Linked DNA regions of Homo sapiens: regions 1 and 3 are each linked to region 2. The links are contacts of gene promoters, found by promoter capture Hi-C in blood cells and fetal thymus (Javierre and others, 2016). All regions are on one chromosome and are shown on one strand. Each heading gives the region's core, a stretch centred on a gene start or on the middle of the fragment in contact. The rest is flanking DNA. Distances are from core to core; before and after follow the strand shown.

What was found. The method cuts DNA at HindIII sites, captures the fragments that hold promoters and counts their contacts. A CHiCAGO score of 5 or more calls a contact.
Region 1: a contact is called between a fragment that was not itself captured here and the fragment with the promoter of THRAP3 in region 2, in 1 of 17 cell types (M1 macrophages). The highest score is 5.7, in M1 macrophages.
Region 3: a fragment that was not itself captured here is called in contact with the fragment with the promoter of THRAP3 in region 2 in 10 of 17 cell types (naive B cells, endothelial precursors, total B cells and 7 more); the score reaches 7.5 in naive B cells.

Annotation. Positions count from the first base shown.
Region 1 is chr1:36,118,303-36,121,171 of GRCh38, forward strand. All of the region lies in intron 1 of COL8A2 (collagen type VIII alpha 2 chain), which reads right to left. Among named protein-coding and RNA genes, the nearest start is that of COL8A2, 5.5 kb to the right of the region's middle. The HindIII fragment of the contact is 6,305 bases long and covers 1-2,869 here.
Region 2 is chr1:36,222,982-36,225,712 of GRCh38, forward strand. It overlaps THRAP3 (thyroid hormone receptor associated protein 3), which reads left to right and starts at 1,462. Exons shown (of 12, transcript NM_005119.4): 1 at 1,462-1,524. RefSeq lists enhancers at 259-428, 639-938, 852-1,379, 1,339-1,548, 1,380-1,908 and a silencer at 1,089-1,208. The HindIII fragment of the contact is 1,255 bases long and covers 1,093-2,347 here.
Region 3 is chr1:36,287,341-36,290,225 of GRCh38, forward strand. THRAP3 (thyroid hormone receptor associated protein 3) reads left to right here. Exons shown (of 12, transcript NM_005119.4): 5 at 1,720-2,424. Among named protein-coding and RNA genes, the nearest start is that of SH3D21, 18 kb to the right of the region's middle. The HindIII fragment of the contact is 1,789 bases long and covers 739-2,527 here.

The DNA.
Region 1 (2,869 bases), core at 227-2,726, 100 kb before region 2:
TGGGCTCCCTGAAGACCTCAGCCACGGGCCCTGCCCCCTACTCCTGCTCTACCCCACCTGTGCTGCCTCAACCTAGATGGCACCAGGGACAGGCAAGGCTGGGAGCAGAGTGGGCAGCTACTATCAGGTGCCTCAGGAGTCCACTCCAGTGGGCCAAGGCCCCCTCTGTCTTACAAATAGGAAGCTGGGGTGAGTGGGTAAGCCAGGGCGGTGCCTGAGCCGACTTCAATGGGACTCTGTTCTTAACCTTCACCCCCAGCTGCCTTCCCTAATCCCCTCCTGGAGCCCCTCCCCTGGCGACGTCTCCCCTTTGCACAGAGCCTGCCGCTGTTGGCTAAATCCCAGACCAGATGTGGGTGGGACAGTCTGCACCCCCCGCCCCCCACCCCCAACCAGCTTCTGAGAGCTGCAGGGTTCCAGGGAGGCTGGCCAGGGCCTCAGGCCCGCTTCCCCATTCCAACTTTCCAGACTGAGGTGCTGATGGCCATGAGGTGAACAATTGGCTCCTGCCAGAGATGGGGCTCATGGGAAAATTTCCCATTTCTGAGCTCCTACTACGGGCAGGCTCTGGACTAAGAGTCTTGCTTTAAAAATCATGTCGGATTAAGAGGACCTCTCTGGAGCCCAGCTGCATGCATCCTTATCTCAGCCCTAGCTCTTACTAGCATGAGACCTCCACCTGGGCCTCAGCTTCTTCATCAATGAAATGGGAACTCCAGGCATTATTTACTCCCGTAACCCTGGAAGGCTGGAACTGCTGTCCCATTTTACTGAGGAAGAGTGCTAGGTCCCAGAGAGGTCACATCCATTCTCCAAGGTAACCAGGCTAGGAAGTGAAAGGGGTGGAATCTGAATCCAGCTCTGCCCAGCCCATATAAAGCTGCCCAGCTCAGCTTCACAGAGCATTTGTGAGGATTAAACAAGTTAATTTTGTGTAACGGACTCAGAGCAGTGCTTGGCATATAGGAATCCTAAATAAATATGCCCTATTATAAATATAATCACTGGCCTGGCACAGTGGTGAACCCAAGTTCACCATTTGCCCAAGTTCCCCCAGCCAGGGAAGGATGGTCCCAGAGCTTGGCCCCAAGCTAAGCAAGTCCAAAGATGAGGACAACCTTCTGGCTCCCCCAAGCTGAGGCATGGTGTGTACTGGGGTGAAGGTCAGTCCCCCGCACCCCCTCAGTCCCTCCTGCCTGACCCCCAGGGGTTCCAACCCCAATCCAGCCCCTGCTGCCGCTGCAGGAGGGGGCTCTGCATTCCTGGCTAAGCAGCTGGATTTGCTGTGCTCCAGGAACTATGAAAAGAATGCTTGCCATGAGCAGAGCCGTGGTCGCCTGTCAGGGAGCGTGGCCTGGAGTGCCCACGCAGAGCTTGGTGGCAGCCAGCACAGTGGGAAGGAAGGAGGCTAGCCAGAAAGGAGAACTTCCGGGTGGTGGGGGCTGTGGACACTGGACGGGTGTGGAGACCAAAGAGTTGGCCACCTGGGATCTTTCAGGAGATAACTGACCCCTCTACCCCGCAATCTAGGTTTCTCCTCACCACAGGTTGTAAGGAGAGGCAGGCTGGCACTGCTGGCCCAGCTCATGGATGGGGTTACACAGACTCAGAGGAAAACTCTCCTGAGGTCACACAGCAGCCAGTGGCAGAATTGAGACCAGAGGCCAGGACCCCCAGCTCAGGCCCCGCCTCTTCACAGAGGCTTCCCTCCCTTGCAGGACCCACCAGGGACCACCAAGGGTTCCTAGATAATAGAAAATACCATCCCAGCCCTCACGGTTCTGGGCTCTCTCTGGGTCTGACCTTCTCATGCCTGCTATTCCTCTTTCCCCCTCCACAAAAAACCCCTTGTGCTATGAAGATGCCCCACACACTGTAGACGTACGACAATTGAGATTCCATTCCTTTTGGGAGGCTCAGGCGGGCGGATCACTTGAGGTCAGGAGTTCAAGAACAGCCTGACCAACATGGCGAAACCCCGTCTCTACTAAAAATACAAAAATTAGCAGAAGTGATGGTACACATCTGTAATCCCAGCTACTAGGGAGGCTGAAGCAGGAGAATTGCTCAAACCCAGGAGGTGGAGGTTGCAGTGAGCCAAGATTGCACCACTGCACTCCAGCCTGGGTGACAGAGACTCCATCTCAAAAAAATAAATAAAAAGAGGACGGGCACAATGGCTCACGCCTGTAACCCCAGCACTTTGGGAGGCCGAGGCGGGCAGATCACAAGGTCAGGAGTTCGAGAACAGCCTGACCAACGTGGTGAAACCCCATCTCTACTAAAAATATAAAAATTAGCCAGGCTTGGCAGCGTGTGCCTGTAATCCCAGCTACTCAGGAGGCTGAGGCAAGAGAATCACTTGAACCCGGGAGGCAGAGGATGCAGTGAGCCGAGATCATGCCATTGCACCCCAGCCTGGGCGACAGAGCGAGACTCCGTCTCAAAAAAAAAAAAAAAAATAGAGAGAGAGAGAGGAAGGAAGGAAGGAAGGAAGGAAGAAAGGCCAGGCATGGTGGCTAACACCTATAATCCCAGCACTTTGGAAGGCCAAGGTGGGTGGCTCACTTGAAGTCAGGAGTTCAAGACCAGCCTGGCCAACATGGTGAAACCTTGTCTCTACTAAAAATACAAAAATTAGCCGGGCCTGGTGGTGCACACCTGTAATCCCAGCTACTCAGGAGGGTGAGGCAGGAGAATCGCTTGAATCCAGGAGGTGGAGGTTGCAGTGAGCCAAGATCGCGCCACTGCACTCCAGCCTGGGCGACAGAGTGAGACTCCGTCTTAATAAAAAAAAAAAAGACCAGGCATGGCACGGTGGCTCACTCCTATAATCCTAGCACTTTGGGAGGCCAAGGCGGGTAGATCA
Region 2 (2,731 bases), core at 212-2,711:
AGCCGGGTGGTGGCATATGCCCGTAAAATCAGCTACTCAGGAGGCTTAGGCAGGAGAATCGCTTGAACCTGGGAGGCAGATGTTGCAGTGACCCAAAATCGCACCACTGCCCTCCAGCCTGGGCGACATAGGGAGAATCTCAATAAATAAATAAATAAATAAATAAAAATAAAATCAATTAAATTAGAACGTTTTAAGAAGCACTGCGCAGTACGTCGACCACAAGAAGTGCTCAAAGAAGGAAGAAAGAGTAAGCCGTGTGCAAGGAATGCTGCCGAAGCCACTAAGGGCAAGGGCTGATGTGGCGTGGTCTGCTACTTGAGTTGAGCCTTGCAGCTTTTCTCTTAGGAAGAGCATTAGATTTCTTTATTAATTGATGTGTACTGTGTCTACTTTTCTCTGGAGGTGCAGAAATCCATCAAAACTGATCTCGGCTCTCAAAGAGCTCACAGTCTTGTCGGGGAAGGCCCCGATACTTACAGAGTAAGATGCAAACTTACTGTGGGAACACAGGCATAGGGAGGAGCTAGTCAACTTTGAAAGCATCACAGATGACCTATGAGATGGGTCTTAAATGTTCAGAGACACTAGAGCAGAAATTCCGGAGGAAACCAGCCTGTGCAAAACTGATAAACGCAGAGATTCTCAAATTTGTAGGTGGGTAAGAATCACCCGAGAGATCGGTTTAAAATGTAGACTGCAGGGAGACACTCCCCGGTAAACTTTTGGTTCAATACCCCAGTAGCACCCATTTTAACAAACTTCCCAGGACGACAGTCAGAAAATCATAGTTACAGAAGGCAGGCTGGGGAGAGGCGGTTTCTGGGTCTCCGAATGAGGTCACACAATTAAAATTAAAAAAACGAAACCAAACCAACCCCTCCATTTGCGTTGCGCTTTCAGGGTGCTTGAGGCTTTCCTGTGCCTTACTTTGTCGGAGCCTGGCAACATCGCTGTGGGGTAGAAATTACAAGTCTCATTTCACAGGGGAGGAAACAAGTTTAGAGAGGAGGGATGAATTTGCTCAAGGTCACAAAGCGGAAGGGAGCGCAGCAGAGACCAAAAACAGGGAGACTCGACTTCCAACTCGGAAGCTTTTCAACAAGGCAAGCTGGCCCGGAGTGGGTGGGGCTCAGACTCTCCCTCCAGGCTGGTTCCAAAATGGTGGGGGCAGTGGCGTCAGCAACGCCCCCGCCCCTTCCGTCCACCGCCCTCCTCCATCTCCAGGCCACCCAGGCGGGGGGAGGGGACGGCCCCGAGCAACCCACGTGACCGCCGACAACCGAGCGCGTGACGCAAAGCGGCGGGCCCAACGCTCGCCTTGTCTTTTGGGAAACGTAGTTCTGATGGCAGCCAAGTCGGCCAGGAGAGGAGGGCGTAGGACTACATTTCCCAGGAGGCAGCGGGTCTACGCCGTCGCCGTCGTCGGAGAGCGGAGACGCTGGGCGCGCTGTGGGGCGGGGGCGAGGTTCGGGCTGGTTGTTCCGTTGCGAGCTGCAGCTGCGATCTCTGTGGTAGGCCCAGGTGAGTGAGCGCCTCTGATGGAAGTTAGGGCAGCTTAACCGGCTCTAGTGGTTTCGTCTCTTATCTTTTTTCCCCAGCTGCTGGTCAGGGGCTCGGGGAAGGCCTGGCGTGGAGTCGCTCCCCCCAGCTTACACCCTGGCCTCTTCTGAGCGGGCTCCGTTCCCTCCGGCTCCTCCCCTTCCCCGCCCTTTAGGTCTTCCCCTGGCCCCGGCCTAGCTCCCAAGGCTCTTGGTCGCCTTCTCTGCAGAGCAGCTCCTACGCCGCTTTATCTTGCAGTCGGCCTGGGGGCGGCCACTCCCTACTCCTCCCGTTTTGGTCGTATGAACCCCGTTATTTGGATTTCTTTTCCCGGAACTCCCGAGTGCCCTTCCCCCCACCCAGTCCCCATTGGCCTGGTTCGGTCTTCTCCTAGGGCGCATGTGGCTGCCACTCAGTAAATGTTAGTACCGCTTCCGTTCTTTCCAGCCTGGTGGCCAAAAACGGGATAGTCCAAATTTGTCTCCTACGGGAATATTAGAGTTCTCACTTTTTTCTTGGGCTGGAGCTGAGGCCGGCTTGCATTCCAGTGGCAATCGGCGTGAGTTCTGCTTATATGAGGTGAATTATTTTGCTTCTCTTAGCACCTAAGCAACTTTTATCAACTGTTGTCTTTGACTTTACAAATCTTAGGGGTGGAGCATGGCAGCAGAAGCTGGGGAGCAGCAATGGTGCACAGAAGTTGGAAGCCATCAGTGGCAGTACAGTGTTTATGGGGAATTTGTTACTTGGGGTGAAGGGAAAGCCTCTGAGAGTATAGAAGGACCTGGCAAGAGAGAGGCAGTGAAGCTTCTGTTGGGAGCATAACAGAAGTATCCTGAACCAGTTGGCTTGGGTTTAAATCTTGGCCCTGCTATCTTTTGATCTTAGGTCAAGAGTCTTCATCTCCAGCTGCCTCAGTTTTCTTATCACTAAAACAGCAGTAAGTAACAGTGACCCCTTTACAGGGTTATTGTGGAGACTAAATGAGATAAAATAAAAATCACTTAGCCACTGTTAAAAAGTAATATCATCATTTATAGGTTTTTTTTTTAGAGTGTGCGCCGAGAGAGATGAGGCGTGTATCACACCGTTATTTTTCTTCTGTTTCAGATGACCCTGACTTTTTTCGTTTGTGGAAGTACTGTTGTAGTCTGTTCTGTAATTCTAGACAGTCTGACGTGTGTATTAT
Region 3 (2,885 bases), core at 383-2,882, 65 kb after region 2:
CTAAGTTAGAGCTCTGATTAATGGTAAAAGGTAATCCCTATTTCCTAGACTTTTCGTTAGTAAACATTAAAAGCATCACCCAAGGAAACCTTTAGGTTAACTCTAGCTTTCCTACCTTCCTGAATTTGTATTGCAGCATAAACTTTCTTTAGACTACTCTGCAATGATGTTTTCACATTTAAAATTTGCCTTGGATTCTACCAATGTAAGCCAAAGAACAGTAGAGATTTGTGGGTCAGCTATCAAAAAAAAGTATGGTCTTTGCCAAAATGAATGGCCATTGGAGCTCTTAGACCCTCTAGCACCCACCATCTACTATGTTCGATCTGCATCAGCCTATCATGGTGAAGAGCTGCACCCTCAATACCCTCCAGTTGAGGAGACTGGGCAGAATGGGAAAGGCCAAGGCATAGTCCAGGAAGGCCTTGTTTTAAAACCACAAGGTGGGTGTATGTCCCAGTAGAAGCCAACACGGCTGCGTGTTAGGAGAGGACATGACAGTGCTTCCGTCTTTCTCCCCTGGGGGACACGGTGAGTTGGAACATGAATCTTTGTTTGTATGGTTGGATGGATTGGGATGGCAGAGAGGTTACAGGGAAGTTGCACTGGGACCAGGTTGTGGTCAAGAGGGACTAACCCAGCAAGTGGCTCCCCCTTTTTTTTTCTTTTATCGTATTTAGCATGTTTTTTGATCCCTTGATTCTTCTTGGCTGTATTAACACGACTTTGACTTGATTAAGCTTTCTGCATTAATGGTACAGATGAGATGTTTTGAATCTGTACTTGCCTTCAGTAAGTCTGTTTTATTTTATTTATTTATTTATTTATTTCAATAGGTTTTTGGGCGAATAGGTGGTGTTTGGTTACATGGATAAGTTTGTTAATGGTGATTTCTGAGGTTTTGGTGCACCCATCACCTGAGCAGTGTACACTGTACCCAGTGTGTAGTTTTTTATCCTTGCCCCCTCCCATCCTTCTCCTTGAGTTCCCAAAGTTCATTATGTCATTCTTATGCCTTTGGGTCCTCATAGTGTAGCTCCCAAGTAAGTCTATTTTAAAACATAAGTTTTGTTCCATGCCAGGACTGTGAATCTCTTTAGAAGACTTGAGCATGAGCTCTGCTTTTCCATAAGAAAGAGAATGATGATTTTTGCTGCTGTCACCCTCTCCCCCATTAACATGTATTTTGTTTTTATTTGTGTTCACAGTATATTTCGTATTTAGATCTTCTAGGTGACTTGAAGCAAATTTGAAGTCTCTTTTTAGACTTGTATTTCCAAATGTGAGTTGTATAAAAGCAAAACAGTCCAAGGTTGAACATTCTATGTTAACTTTGCTGAAAGCAGATTTTAAGTGACTGAGTGAAGGTTGGGTAAGACCTTAAGTTATTTTTTGCCCTAGATCACATTACAGGTAAGTAGGTTTTTGTTTTTGTTTTTGAGTATCCTAAAAATAACTTTTGTTGTTCTCTTTGGTTGCTTTTGTAAGACACAACTCCATGGATCATATATTTTTCTCTTAATTGGCAAGTTCATAGAACTGTGAATGGCAGTTTTCAGAAATTATTACGAAGTAACCGCCTAGAAAGTCCTTTGGTAATACAGGAATCCATAAGACATGTTTTTTTCAGAGAATCAAAAACCAAAAACGGTAAGGCACTATTTTAGAGCATGCTGTTAAGAAGCCTCTTGTGTCTCTCTCTTGTGTTTTTATAAATAGGTATCTAGAAGAGCAGAAGACAGAGAATGGAAAAGATAAGGAACAGAAACAAACAAATACCGATAAAGAAAAAATAAAAGAGAAAGGGAGCTTCTCTGACACAGGCTTGGGTGATGGAAAAATGAAATCTGATTCTTTTGCTCCCAAAACTGATTCTGAGAAGCCTTTTCGGGGCAGTCAGTCTCCCAAAAGGTATAAGCTCCGAGATGACTTTGAGAAGAAGATGGCTGACTTCCACAAGGAGGAGATGGATGATCAAGATAAGGACAAAGCTAAGGGAAGAAAGGAATCTGAGTTTGATGATGAACCCAAATTTATGTCTAAAGTCATAGGTGCAAACAAAAACCAGGAGGAGGAGAAGTCAGGCAAATGGGAGGGCCTGGTATATGCACCTCCAGGGAAGGAAAAGCAGAGAAAAACAGAGGAGCTGGAGGAGGAGTCTTTCCCAGAGAGATCCAAAAAGGAAGATCGGGGCAAGAGAAGCGAAGGTGGGCACAGGGGCTTTGTGCCTGAGAAGAATTTCCGAGTGACTGCTTATAAAGCAGTCCAGGAGAAAAGCTCATCACCTCCCCCAAGAAAGACCTCTGAGAGCCGAGACAAGCTGGGAGCGAAAGGAGATTTTCCCACAGGAAAGTCTTCCTTTTCCATTACTCGAGAGGCACAGGTCAATGTCCGGATGGACTCTTTTGATGAGGACCTCGCACGGTGAGATATGCTCCTTCTTGATCCTCAGTGCTTTAGTGGCCTAAGTGGTGTCGCCTAGCCTTTCTCCCTGGGGACATTCTGCTGTATTCCCCCTTCTGTCTTAAGCTTCAGTGGTGATACTTTCATGTCCACCTGTGTTCACTGGAGAGTATGTGTCACAGAGTGATTGTGTGCTTTTGAAGGGGGGCAGTATCCCTGGGGTGATGAAGTATCTCTTCAGTCCTTAGTGACTGGCTCACTCTCTGTTCATCACTGCACCCCCAAGTCCAATGCTGTTTCTTGTATTTAAGATAGCTTTGCCTGTGAAGCCATCCTGGATCCACTTCTTCGTTCCTAGCTGGGTTGCCAAAGTCTATAGTACGGCCCTTCCCCATCAAATAACGTAGCAATTTTATTGTATTGTATTGTATTTTTGAGATAGTCTCTCTCTCTCTCTTCTTTTTTTTTTTGAGACGGGGTCT